Regions from separate parts of the Homo sapiens genome. Here region 2 is linked to region 1. Evidence: promoter capture Hi-C in human tissues and cell types (Jung and others, 2019). All regions are on one chromosome and are shown on one strand. The core of a region is centred on a gene start or on the middle of the fragment in contact, and the rest is flanking DNA. Distances in the headings are between cores, read along the strand shown.

The links. Contacts are between HindIII fragments. The study calls those that stand out against the background at their distance.
Region 2: a fragment that was not itself captured here is called in contact with the fragment with the promoter of ACOX1 in region 1 in 1 of the 25 tissues and cell types used here (dorsolateral prefrontal cortex).

What each region holds. Positions count from the first base shown.
Region 1 is chr17:75,974,246-75,980,896 of GRCh38, reverse strand. ACOX1 (acyl-CoA oxidase 1) reads left to right here and starts at 1,731. Exons shown (of 14, transcript NM_004035.7): 1 at 1,731-1,932; 2 at 2,204-2,363. The coding sequence starts at 1,824. It overlaps TEN1 (TEN1 subunit of CST complex), which reads right to left and starts at 1,657. Exons shown (of 4, transcript NM_001113324.3): 1 at 1,386-1,657. TEN1-CDK3 (TEN1-CDK3 readthrough (NMD candidate)) reads right to left here and starts at 1,680. Exons shown (of 10, transcript NR_037709.1): 1 at 1,386-1,680. RefSeq lists enhancers at 1,169-1,268, 1,390-1,973, 1,839-2,068, 1,974-2,557 and a silencer at 1,689-1,758. The HindIII fragment of the contact is 12,830 bases long and covers 652-6,651 here.
Region 2 is chr17:76,746,826-76,753,333 of GRCh38, reverse strand. The region is part of intron 7 of MFSD11 (major facilitator superfamily domain containing 11); the gene reads right to left. It also overlaps the pseudogene RNU6-97P. Among named protein-coding and RNA genes, the nearest start is that of MFSD11, 12 kb to the right of the region's middle. The HindIII fragment of the contact is 3,168 bases long and covers 2,870-6,037 here.

The sequences.
Region 1 (6,651 bases), core at 482-2,981:
CTGCTGTTGAAGGGGCCTGAGATCAGCAGCTTAATAAGACAAATGAGGATCCTGAGGTCCTAGGGGTTAAGAGTGTGTATTATAGTTCTATTATTCAAATTATGAATGTTATGCATCTCTCGTAGTTTTACTTCTGAGAAAACCAAAGTCATAGTATTACACAGACTACAGACAGGCTAGGCGCAGCGGCTCACGCCTGTAATCCCGGCGCTTTGGGAGGCCGAGGCAGGTGGATCAACAGGTCAGGAATTCGAGACCAGCCTGGCCAACATGGCAAAATCCTGTCTCTACTAAAAATACAATTAGCTGGGTGTGGTGGCGAGCCCCTATAATCCCAGCTACTCGGGAGGCTGAGATAGGAGAATCGCTTGAACCCAGGGGGTGGAGGTTGCAATGAGCTGAGATCATACCACCACACTGCAGCCTGGGCGACAGAGCGAGACTCCGTCTCAAGAAAAAAAAAAAAAATGACTAGAGATGATTCAACAAATCCCTGAATCTCCCTTGTCTACAATCCCACTGGGCAGAACTGTTTTTGTTTTTTGTTTTTTTTCTGTAGAGACAGGGTCTCACTATGTTGCCCAGGATGGAGTGCAATGTCACAATCTTGGCTCACCGCAACCTCCACCTCCGGGGCTCAAGCCACCATCCCATCTCAGCCTTCAGAGTAGCTGGGACTACAGGCGCATGCCACTACACCCAGCTAATTTTTTGGTATTTTTTGTAGGGATGGGGTTTTGCCATGTTGCCCAGGCTGGTCTTGAACTCCTGGGCTCAAGTGATACGCCCGCCTCGTCCTCCCAAAGTGCTGGGATTCCAGGCGTGAGCCACCGCGCCCGGCCCTACACTAGGTTTTAACAGTAAGTGTGCATTTCCCACTTTGATGACGGTGATGGCGAAAGCAAAGAAGTCTGGATTCCAAGACCTCTAGTAACTGCCAGGTTGCGGGGGAAAATGTCTGGTTTCCCAGACAGAAGGCTTAGAGCAGCACCGCCCGCTTGGTCTCATTCTAAGTCCCCGTCCACCCCTTGAACAGCGCTCACAATCCCACACCCAGGGCCCCGGAACCCACGCCTCTGCCAGTAAAGACGCCATTATCTTAACAAAAGGTAACTGGAGCCTCTCCCCAAAGAGACTGGTTCCCGTCCCATTCTTCTCCAATCCGGGTGGATTTGGCAAAAGCCCAAGTGACCCTCCCTAGCAATTCCGCAAAGCCCCATCTCCCGCCCCAGACTCCAGAGTCTCCCGACCACTCTCATTTCGGAGAGGCCTAGGGGCACGGACCCGGAAGCGTGACAGAGGCCGCGGGGTAAGAGGGGGGCAAGTGCAGGCGCAATCCCTCCTCAGCCTCGTTGTCCCGCCCCCTTCCCAAGGCCCCAGCCAACCTGTTCTAGGCGTCGCCGGTCCTCGGATTTCTTCTTTCCGCCTCGCGTGGTCACGTGACGGGGGAGGGGCGGGATACAAAAAGTGCTTTATTTTCCCACTCCCCGGACGCCCAGCAGGGCAGTTTCTTGACCTTCGGAGCCCCTTTCCCGAGGATCCGCTCGGGAGCCTCCCCTGGCCAGGAGCAGGGGATTAGTCTGCCCCGCGACCGGCCCCAGCCACGACGCGGACATCGCCCCCTCTGTCTGGGCCGCTGTCACTCACGCGCCAAAGGGCCACGGAGAAAGAAGGGGCGGGCCGGGGCGGGCCGGGCGAGCGGAGGCGGGGACTTGCGCCGTCCTGAGGCTGCCTCCTAGGGTCCGGCCGGCGCTGGAGCTGCGGATTTAGATTGTCACTGCCACCTCGGTCGGTGCTTACTTCGCTGCCAGCTGGTCGTCGCCATGAACCCGGACCTGCGCAGGGAGCGGGATTCCGCCAGCTTCAACCCGGAGCTGCTTACACACATCCTGGACGGCAGCCCCGAGAAAACCCGGCGCCGCCGAGAGATCGGTGAGGGCGGCGGGCGAGACCTCCCTCCTTTCCCGAGAAAAGCTGGAGACTCCCTCGATGCGGAGTCAGGGGCGCTGTGGGGCCTAGGCCCTCTGGCCCAGCGTTAGGGGAGCCGGGACCCCCACTTCGAGGAACAGCCTGTGTCCCTGGTGGGGGGATATCGCCATTCCCCAGGTGTGTCCGCGACTCTGAAGCCTATTGTGATTCAGGGAGGGTGGAACGGAGGCCCGAGTGTCTGTCTGCCTTTTAATGCCCTTTAACCCCCTTTCAGAGAACATGATCCTGAACGACCCAGACTTCCAGCATGAGGACTTGAACTTCCTCACTCGCAGCCAGCGTTATGAGGTGGCTGTCAGGAAAAGTGCCATCATGGTGAAGAAGATGAGGGAGTTTGGCATCGCTGACCCTGATGAAATTATGTGGTTTAAAAAGTAGGTATGCCTTAGAACAGAGCAAGTGTTGTTAAGCCTAAACTTTACAGCTGCGGTCTATGGTGGCCTTTCATCACCGTGCTTGGTGTTTGAAGATGCAAACTGGCATATTTTCATGCAACTTTATAAAGTTATATGTGTGGCCGGGCGCGGTGGCTCACGCCTGTAATCCCAGCACTTTGGGAGGCCGAGGCGGGCGGATCACCAAGTCAGGAGATCGAGACCATTCTGGCTAACACGGTGAAACCCCATCTCTACTGAAAATACAAAAATTAGCCGGGCGTGGTGGCGGGCGCCTGTAGTTCCAGCTACTCGGGAGGCTGAGGCAGGAGAATAGCGTGAACTAGGGAGGCGGAGCTTGCAGTGAGCCGAGATCGCGCCACTGCACTCCAGCCTGGGCAAGAGTGCGAGACTCCATCTCAAAAAATAAATAAATAAATAAATAAATAAAGTTATATGTGTGAAAAATAATGTGATCACTTTTGTATCCAAGCCTTTTCGTGGGATGACGTGTTTGTAGAATGCTGATAATAAATGGAAATGCAGGAGTTTTTGTTCTCAAGAGTACAGTTTCAAGGATGTTGTAAAAGCATTGTTCTGCCCAAGCAACTCAAATTTGACTGATTTAAATGCAGAATCATTTTGCTCTTTGTAAGGAGGACTGCTAAAATTCTGAATCTGGGAGCATTTTTTTTTTTAGTTGCACGACCATTTAAATATTTTGGAGCAATAGCAGATTATATTATATGGTAGTGTGGACCTGGATGAAGAATGATCTGTGACGCCTCTGAATGAATAGAAAGTCTAAGAACCCAGTAGTTCTGAATCCATGACAGTGCTTGAATGGTTGTCTTGTGCATATGAGAGAGACGTCATAAAAACCTGCCTTGGTTCTAGTGTGGAAGAGAGTATATCCTTTTTTCAGACCATGTGTTTTGTTGTGTTTTTTGTTTTTGTTTTTGTTTTTTGAGACGGAGTCTCGCTCTGTCGCCCAGGCTGCAGTGCAGTGGCACGATCTCGGCTCACTCCAGCCTCCACCTCCCGGATTCAAGCGATTCTCCTGCTTCAGCCTCCTGAGTAGCTGGGATTACAGGCGCCCGCCACCACACCCGGCTAATTTTTGTATTTTTAGTAGAGATGGGGTTTCGCCATGTTGCCAGGCTGGTCTCAAACTCCTCACCTCGTGATCCACCCTGCTCCACAAGGAACGGTAAAAATAAATAAAAATAAGGACTTCGGGCCGGGCACAGTGGCTCATGCCTGTAATCTCAGCACTTTGGGAAGCCAAGGCAGGTGGATCACTTGAGGCCAGGAGCTCGAGACCAGCCTGGCCAAAATGGTGAAACTCTCTCTACTAAAAATACAAAAATTAGCCGGGCCTGGTGGTGCGCTTCTGGGGTCCCAGCTATTCAGGAGGCTGAGGCAGGAGAATCCCTTGAACCTGGGAGGCAAAGGCTGCACTGAGCCGAGATCACGCCACTGCACTCCAGACTGGGCAACAAAGAGAGACTCTGTCTCAAAAAAAAAAAAAAAAAAAAAAAAGACTTTTTTGCCTTAACCTAAACAAACACTATTACATGATCCTAGTACAAGATTATTTTGGCCTATAGCATTTTTTTCTCATTTATTCCTGGGCATTTTCTCTTTTAGGTTTCTCCATTTTAAAGGAACTCCAGTATTTTCATCGGTAAAGACTAAATCGTATGAGTGGTGTATAGACTAGAACCAAGCTAAATAGAACATGTTGCACGTTCTGCCTTTATGGTAATAATGGTCACTGCCTCTAGTGCCTTTGGTATCGATTTTCAGCTTGACTTGGGTTATTTTTGTGAAGATGAAATGGTTTACTCTGGCACTTTGGACTTTCCTCAGAGCTCCACTCAGTTTTAAACGAAAAAATTTTGTTTATTTATTTTTGGTAGTTCAAATCAGCATACTTCCAAATGGTCTGTTTTGTTTTTGAAGTTTGTAACTCATGGCTGTGGGGATATTGAGATAGAGTAACTCCTCCTAGAAGATTATGTTACTGATACCTGTGTTGTGTTTGTAAATTTGAAAAAATTAGTAAGATTTTATTCCTTCTTGAAACGTCAGGAAAAAAGTGGGTTGAGTGTGTGTGTGTGTGTTTGAATGGGTGGTGCAGTGCATTTCAAAGCTGATAGAGATGATTTCATAACCTGTGACCTGTTGATAATGTGAACCAGACTCGAGTGAGGTCACAATGAAATAGAACAAAGTCTTTTATGCGGGTTAAAGATTCATGGACACCGGGAAGTTGTTTTGTGTATCATTTTTCATGTGAAGTATTAAAGTACAAACTTTAACACACCCTTTGACACACTTCCAATGTCCTTAGGATATGACAAGGAGATCAGTTTTTAAGTAAGAGAAGGGGTTTGTAAATGAGTCCTGGAAATTATCGCATGCTATCGAGTTAAAGCCTCGGTTATATAATCTCATCGATTATAACTCACACCAGTGTTTTGTGTACCACTAAGAAAGAAAGAATGCTGCCAGTTAACCGTGACATGCTATTAATTGTGAAATACATCACCTTTCTTTCTTTTCTTTTCTTTCTTTCTTTCTTTTCTTTTCTTTCTTTTCCTTTCTTTTTCTTTCTCTTTCTCTTCCTCTTTCTTTTTCTTTCTCTCTCTTTCTTTCTCTCTCTCTCTCTCTCTCTGCATTTCCATTTATTTCCATTATCAGCAGGTGAAGAGGCATCTGCCACCTCACCCAGCTAACTTTTGTATTTTTAGTAGAAATGGGGTTTCACCATGTTGGCCAGGCTGGTCTCGAACTCCTGGCCTTGTGATCCACCCGCCCCTTCCTCCCAAAATGCTGGGATTACAGGCATAAGCCACTGCGCCTGGCTGAGAAAACATTTTTAACTGATGTTAATGAGCAGCTTCTAAACACATGATTAGGACGCAGAAGTCGTTCCCTCTGGTGGAATCTATAATGATTACATTAATTCATTTTGATTAATTAGAAATATTCGTATCTAAGAGCATCCATGTTGAGAGTTTTTTGTTTCTAAGTGGATTATGATTTATGTAAGATAGAAAAGACAATGGGACTGGGGCATGGTGGCTCACGCCTGTAATCCCAGCACTTTGGGTGGCTGAGGTGGGCAGATCACTTGAGGCCAGGCCACTTCATGACCAGCCTGGCCAACATGGCAAAACGCCTTCTCTACTAAAATACAAAATTAACCGGGCTTGGTGGCACACGCCTATAATCCCAGCTACTTGGGAGGCTGAGGCATGAGAATCACTTGAACCTAGGAGGCAGAGGTTGCCGTGAGCTGGGATCACACCACTGTACTCCAGCCTGGGCAACAGAGGGAGACTGTCTCCAAAAAAGAAAAAAAAAGAAATGGCGGGGATAACCGTGTAGTACTTATTTAGGAAATAGAAAAATAAGGGTATATTGTGTTTACTATTATTTCTTTCTTTCTTTCTTTTTTTTTTTTTTTTTTTTTTTGGAGACAGAGTCTCGCTCTGTCGCCCAGGCTGGAGTGCAGTGGTGCGATCTCGGCTCACTACAAGCTCCGCCTCCCGGGTTCACGCCATTCTCCCGCCTCAGCCTCCTGAGTAGCTGGGACTACAGGAGCCCACCACCACACCCGGCTAATTTTTTTTTTGTATTTTTCGTAGAGACGGGGTTTCACCATGTTAGCCAGGATGGTCTCGATCTGATGGTCTCGATCTCCTGACCTCGTGATCCACCCGCCTTGGCCTCCCAACGTGCTGGGATTACAGGCGTGAGCCACCGCGCCCGGCTACTATTATTTCTTTTAAGGTGGTAGTTTGGTTTCAGGGTCCCCCAGCACTGCAATGGCAGCCTATCCCTTCTGTCCTTTAGTTCATGCTCTGCTCATTGCACAGGTTAGGATAAACTGGTAGTAACATTGCTTCCTAATCATGTGTTGAGAAGTCGTGAAGATCAGTTAGATGAGATGTATTTTGTACTTTAAACTTTTTAGATACGAGCTTTGTCAAAGTACAAAATTGATCCCTATAAAATCTATGACACAGCACAGCCAAGGCCAACTACTGTGGATTCTGTTTTGTAAGAAGAGAGTTGAGGACTAAATTTCAATGTGATGTAGAGTTAATCCGTAGTAATGTTCATTGACCATTGGGGATAAATTTTTACATGCCCACATTACTTATTGTAAACCCTGAAGACCTTTAGCGATGTATGATTCTGCCCTGGAATATGTATTTACTCTTTTGGATATTTGCTTATATTATCTAGGGAAACATAGTTGAAATTATTTCTTCCT
Region 2 (6,508 bases), core at 3,204-5,703, 770 kb before region 1:
TACTATGAAAAATAAGTTCTTTGGCATTAAAACCCGTCAGAGACTTTTGTTATTTTCTGCATCCTGAGGTGGTTACTTTGGATGTGGTATCATGAAGGCTTTCTTGAAGTTAGCTTTCATTCATCTCCTTGCTGCTATGACTGTTTGGGTATCGAGAACCAAGAGACTTTGACAGGTACTGTACTCTCGATTGGCTTCACATCAAAATTCAAGCACTGACAGGTGACGACTGCTATGTGCTTTCTGATGAAGTGTTTTTGGGAACTGTAACCAACATGTGACAAGATTTTTTTTTTTTATGGAACAAGATTTTTTTTTTTAAATATGGAACACTTCACAAATTTGCATGTCATCCTTGCGCAGGGGCCATGCTAATCTCTGTATTGTTCCAATTTTAGTATTTGTGCTGCCGAAGTGAGCACAAGATTTTTATATGTTATATGTTTCTATACCAACAGTGTCATCAAATCTCAGGTTTTAAAAGGGAAGGTTATTTTAAAATCTGTACTAATATTTACCTCAGGAAGATTACCAAGGCAAGGATTCATGCCTATCTCCTGCCCTGCTGAGAGAGGTGGGTCTTCGTCGCAACCTGCAATTTTATTTATCCATACAAGGCAGGTCAAATCACAGACTTGGGCAGGGTGTGGTGGCTCACGCCTGGAACCCCAGCACTTTGGGAGGCCAAGGCAGGCTGATCACTTGAGGGTGGATTACTTGAGGTCAGGAGTTTCAGATCAGCCTGGCCAACATGGCGAAACCCTATCTCTACTAAAAATACAAAAAAATTTAGCAGGGTGTGGTGGTGCACCCCTGTAATCCCAGCTACTCAGGAGGCTGACATGAGAATCGCTTGAACCCAGAAACTGAGATCACGCCACTTCACTCCAGCCTGGGCAACAGAGCAAGACTCCATCTCAAAAAAAAAAAAAAAAATCCCTGACTTTTCCAGTTTACCAAGACTACTGCCGAAACACTACTGAGTGCTTGAAATCATGCTCCAAAGCTTAAAACGTATTTTTCTTATTCATCCACCAAGATTGATGAAGTCAAGGAAGTGCCTAACATTAGATCATTGTACATCCTATGCCTCATTTTCTCTTCAATGGGAAACGGAAGTGGGTTATATAAGGTGATACACAGAGCAACTGCAGCTGTCTGAGGACTGAGCAACAACACGCCTGAGCTATAATACTGAGGATGGCAGAGTTCTTATTGATACCATTTGCTTTCATTAATCTGCAATTTTCACAAAGCAGACATTTCCTTCTATGATTCCTTTGGAGAAATAAGTTTTTAATTATACTAGAATCATATTCAATAACACTCTTCAGAATCATGAATGCCCTCCTTGTGACATGGCTGGGACGCACAATGATCTACTGATTGAAACAAGGGCTTTGGAGTCAGAGGCCTGGCTTTGCTGCTAATTAGTTGTGTGATTTTAGACAAGTGACTTCATTTCTCCAAGTATTATTTCCTCATTCATCAAATAGGGATGCTACGACTTACCCATGGGAATTAAATAAGATAATGCAAGTTAAGCATAATTGTTAATAAGATTATAAGAAAGTTTTTAAAAAATATTTTTTCCTTAATTTTTAAAGATTTTTCTTTTTCCTTTTTTTTTTTTTTGAGACCGAGTCTTGCTCTGTCATCAGGCTGGAATGCACTGGCACAATCATGGCTCAGTGTAGCCTTGACCTCCTGGGCTCAAGTGATCCTCCTGCCTCAGCCTCCTGAGTAACTGGGACTACAGGCATGCACCACCATGCCTGTAGAGACAGGCATGATTTTTAAATTTTTGCAGAGACAGTATTCCACAAGGTTGCCAGGCTGGTCTGGAACTCTGGGCTCAGTGATCCTCTGACTTCAGCCTCCCAAAGTGTTGGGATTACAGGTGTGAACCACCACACCCATCCTAGAAAGATTTTTTTTTTTCTTAAGACAATGTCTCGCTCTGTCACCCAGACTGGAGTGCAGTGGCACGATCTCAGCTCACTGCAATCTCCACCTCCCAGGTTCACGCCATTCTCCTGCCTCAGCCTCCCAAGTAGCTGGGACTACAGGCGCCTGCCACTACGCCTGGCTAATTTTTTTGTATTTTTAGTAGAGATGGGTTTCACCGTGTTAGCCAGGATAGTCTCGATCTCCTGACCTCGTGACCCGCCCGCCTCGGCCTCCCAAAGTGCTGGGATTACAGGTGTGAGCCACTGCACCCAGCCAAAAGATTTTTAAAAGATTACATTTCTATCCTGTAATCCCAGCACTCTGGGAGGCCAAGGCGGGTGGATCACTTGAGGTAAGGAGTTTGAGACCAGCCTGGCCAACATGGTGAAACCCCACCTCTACTAAAAATACAAAAATTAGCCAGGTGTGGCAGGTGCCTGTAATCCCAGCTACTTGGGAGGCCGAGGCAGCAGAATCACTTGAACATGGAAGGCGGAGGTTTCAGTGAGCCTAGACCGTGTCACTGCACTCCAGCCTGGGTGAGAGAGCGAGACTCCGTATCAAAAAAAAAAAAAAGATTACATTTCCTATCCTAATAGCCAAGTCTACTCCTATATCTCTAAATGGCATTTTTACCAAAAAAAAGTAATGTAAAGAAGATCTTGTTAACTTAAGAAATAAAAGGAATCTAATGGTGATCCAATTAAGTTAAAAAATTTCTAAAGCTCGGCCAGGCGCGGTGGCTCACGCCTGTAATCCCAGCACTTTGGGAGGCTGAGGTGGGCGGATCACGAGGTCAGGAGATCGAGACCATCCTGGCTAACACAGTGAAACTCAGTCTCTACTAAAAATACAAAAAATTAGCCGGGCGTGTGGCAGGAGCCTGTAGTCCCAGCTACTCAGGAGGCTGAGACAGGAGAATGGCGTGCACCCGGGAGGCGGAGCCGAGTTTGCGCCACTGCACTCCAGCCTGGGCGACAGAGTGAGACTCTGTCTCAAAAAAAAAAAAAAAAAAAAAATTACTAACACACAAAAAAATAGTGTGCTCTAACCAGCAAGAAAACTTTTTTCCTCATCATAAAACTCATGCCTTGCCCGGAAGCAAATACTATTTAGATGCCATCATTTGGTAGTACCCTCATTTTATACTTGGATAGGATCCCATGTAGGATTCCAATATTTTACCCTTCAGGCCCCAATTAACTGATTTATACTCTACAGACGACTAAAATACAATAATTCAGCTGCAAATCACTTCCAATTTAATTCAGTGAGTTATTTACCATTTAAGTTAGACCACTGTCAGTCCTCTCTCGAACCCTCCAATGGCTTACCATCCCACTCCAGGTAAAAGCCACACCTGGCTCACCTCTTTCAGGCCCTGACTTAAATGTTACTTTCTCAGCCTTCCCAACTCTGTAACTGCAACAGCTCCCCTTCCACCTCCCACCCTCATATTTCTCTATTGCTTCTCTGCTTTTTTTTTTTTTTTTTGAGAAGGAGTCTCACTCTATCGCCCAGGCTGGAGTGCTGCGGTGCAATCTTGGCTCACTGCCACCTCCAACTCCCTGGTTCAAGCGATTCTCCTACCTCAGCCTCCTGAGTAGCTGGGATTACAGGCACACACCACCACACCAGGCTAATTTTTGTATTTTTAGTAGAGACGGAGTTTCACCATGTTGGCCAGGATGGTCTCGATCTCCTGACCTCGTGATCCGCCCACCTCGGCCTCCCAAAGTGCTGGAATTACAGGTTTAAGTCACCGTGCCCAGCCTGCTTTATTTTTTTATTTCAAGAACCATATGGAGATAGGCTACAGCATACATTGTTCCTTCTTCTTCTTTTTTTTTTTGAGACAGGCTCTCTCCCTGTCACCCAGGCTGGAGTGTGGTGGTGTGATTATCTTGGCTCACTGCAACCTCCGCGTCCTGGGCGTAAGCGATTCTCCCACCTCAGTCTCTCAAGTAGCTGGGAGCACAGACATGCGCCACCATGCCTGATTAATTTTTGTATTTTTTTTTTGGTAGAGATGGTGTTTCGCCATGTTGCTCAGGCTAATCTCAAATTCCTGGGTTCAAGCAATCCGCCTGTCTCGGCCTCCCAAAGTGCTATGATTTTTATTACCTGGAAAAGGAACCACAGGCCAAGCATGGGCCATCACATTCATCCTGTGGCTCCTTTTTGGGGTAATAAAAGTATTCATAAAATATTCTAAAATTGGTTTCAATGATGGACGCACAACTCTGTGAATATACTCAAAAGCACTGAAGTGTATACTTTAGATGGGTGAATTATATAGTATATGAGTTATATCTCAATAAAGCTATTTTTAAAACCTGCCTGTTTCTTTTCTCTCTGTCACCAACTAGAAAGTAAGCTCCATGAATGCACAAACTTCTGTTTTATTTAGCACAATGCTTGGAATATCAGAGAACCTCAAATATAGGGGAAGGAAGAAAAGAAGGGAGAGAGGAAGGGAGGGTGGGAGAGAGGGAAGGGAAAGAAAGGATGAATGCAGGAAGGTAAGAAGTGAAAGGATAGAGGGAGGAAAGAAGAGAGGAAGGAAAGAATACAGGGAGGAGGGGAGAAGGAGGATAGAAGTAACTGCCAATGAAGAAACACCCAGAGATCACCCAGCTAATAAGTCCTCAGAGATGCAAATTACGCACTTGAGATAGAGGACAGATTTTTTTTTTTTAAGACAGGGTCTTGCTCTGTTGCCCATGCTGGAGTGCAGCGGCGTGACCACAGCTCACTGCAACCTTGAATCCCTTTGCTGAAGCTTCCCCCTACCTCGGCCTCTCAAGTAGCTGGGACTACAGGCGTGCACCACCACACCTGGCTCATTTTTTTTTTTTTTAAGTAGAGACTAGGTCTTGCTATGTTGCCCAGGCTGATTTCAAACAGGGCTCAAGCGATCTTCTTGCCTCAGCCTCCCAAGGTGCTGGGATTACAGGCAGGAGCCACTGTGCCCAGCCAGAAGACAGACAGAGCTGTCTCTTTGGACCTCTTCAAATCTTTTTCTGTGAGGCCTTTAGGTGGGAACCTTTAAAACAGAATTCTACTTATACCCTCAACAGCTTCTAATCACACTAAGAAGAAAACACAAACCTCCTATCTTGGCTTACATAATCTGACCCTGTCTACTGCTTCCACTTCTTCCTTCTTGGAGACCAGAGCCCACCACGCCCTTCCCACTGCCTGGCTTTGGCAAAGGCCACCCGCTGACCTTCATGTCTCACCAGCCACGTCTCAGGGAGCCACCCCACTCTCCCCCCTCCCCCCCACTCTCCCCCTCTTTCACAGTCTTCCTAACACTCACTTTGCTATTTTCTTACACGTGCATTGTCTACCACCCCCTCTAAAATTAAGTCCCGTAAGAACAAGGACTTATCTGTCTTGTTCACGCCTATATCCCTCAGGCATAGAAGAGGGCTGCCACAAGTCTGTGCTATTTGTAGAACAAAGACACAGAAGCTCCAAATTTAGGAGACGATTCAGGAAGAGAGAATGCTACAAAGGCTGAGCAGTATTTCTAGAAGAACGCCAGCTCACAGTTACAGAACCCCTCATCCACCTCCCCAACTTGGCAGTTCCTTAAAAACAGGGATGGGCGGCATTTGTCCTCTAGGACCAACACCAAACATGTGCTGGCTGAATGGGGGGGTCAGTTTTCATTGAATTTGTGGTATTCACTTTCACAGACTCCTTCTCCAGTAACTACTGGTTTGTGCTTTAAAACAAAATGTTTTGCCAGGCGCGGTGGCTCACGCCTGTAATCCCAGCACTTTGGGAGGCCAAGGCGGGTGGATCACGAGGTCAGGAGTTCGAGACCAGCCTGCCCAACATAGTGAAGCCCCGTCTCTACTAAAAATACAAAAATTAGCTGGGTATGGTGGCATGTGCCTGTAGTCCCAGCTACTCGGGAGGCTGAGGCGGAAGAATCACTTGAACCTGGGAAGCAGAGGTTGCAGTGAGCCAAGACTACGCCATTGCACTCCAGCCTGGGTGAAAAAGTGAGACTCCATCTCAAAAAAAAAAAAAGTTTCACCATGTTGCCCCGTCTGGTCTCAAACTCCTAAGCCCAAACAATCCACCTGCCTCAGCCTCCCAAAGTGCTGGGATTACAGGCGTGAGCCACTGTACCCAGCCCCAGGCACAGATGTTCTTAATGTGACCTACCTAGAATGATGACTCCTTCTCAAAAGGTTTACAATTTACTTTGCTTAGATCTGAAGAATCATTATCTATGGCAGCTATATCCTCATGAAATGTATTTCTTAAATAATAAGACTTGAAAGTTGAAATTAGCCAGGCATGGTGGTGCACGCCTGTAATGCCAGTTACTGAGGAGGCTGAGGCAGGAGGAATCTCTTGAACCCGGGAGGCAGAGGTTGCAGTGAGCCGAGATCCCGCCACTGCACTCCAGCCTGGGTGACAGAGCAAGACTTTGTCTCAAAAAAAAAAAAATGGAAATTACTCCTTGATCCAGGGGCTGCAGAACACATGTTGTTAGAAGGCATGAAAACAACATTCATCTCCTTGTACACCTCCAACA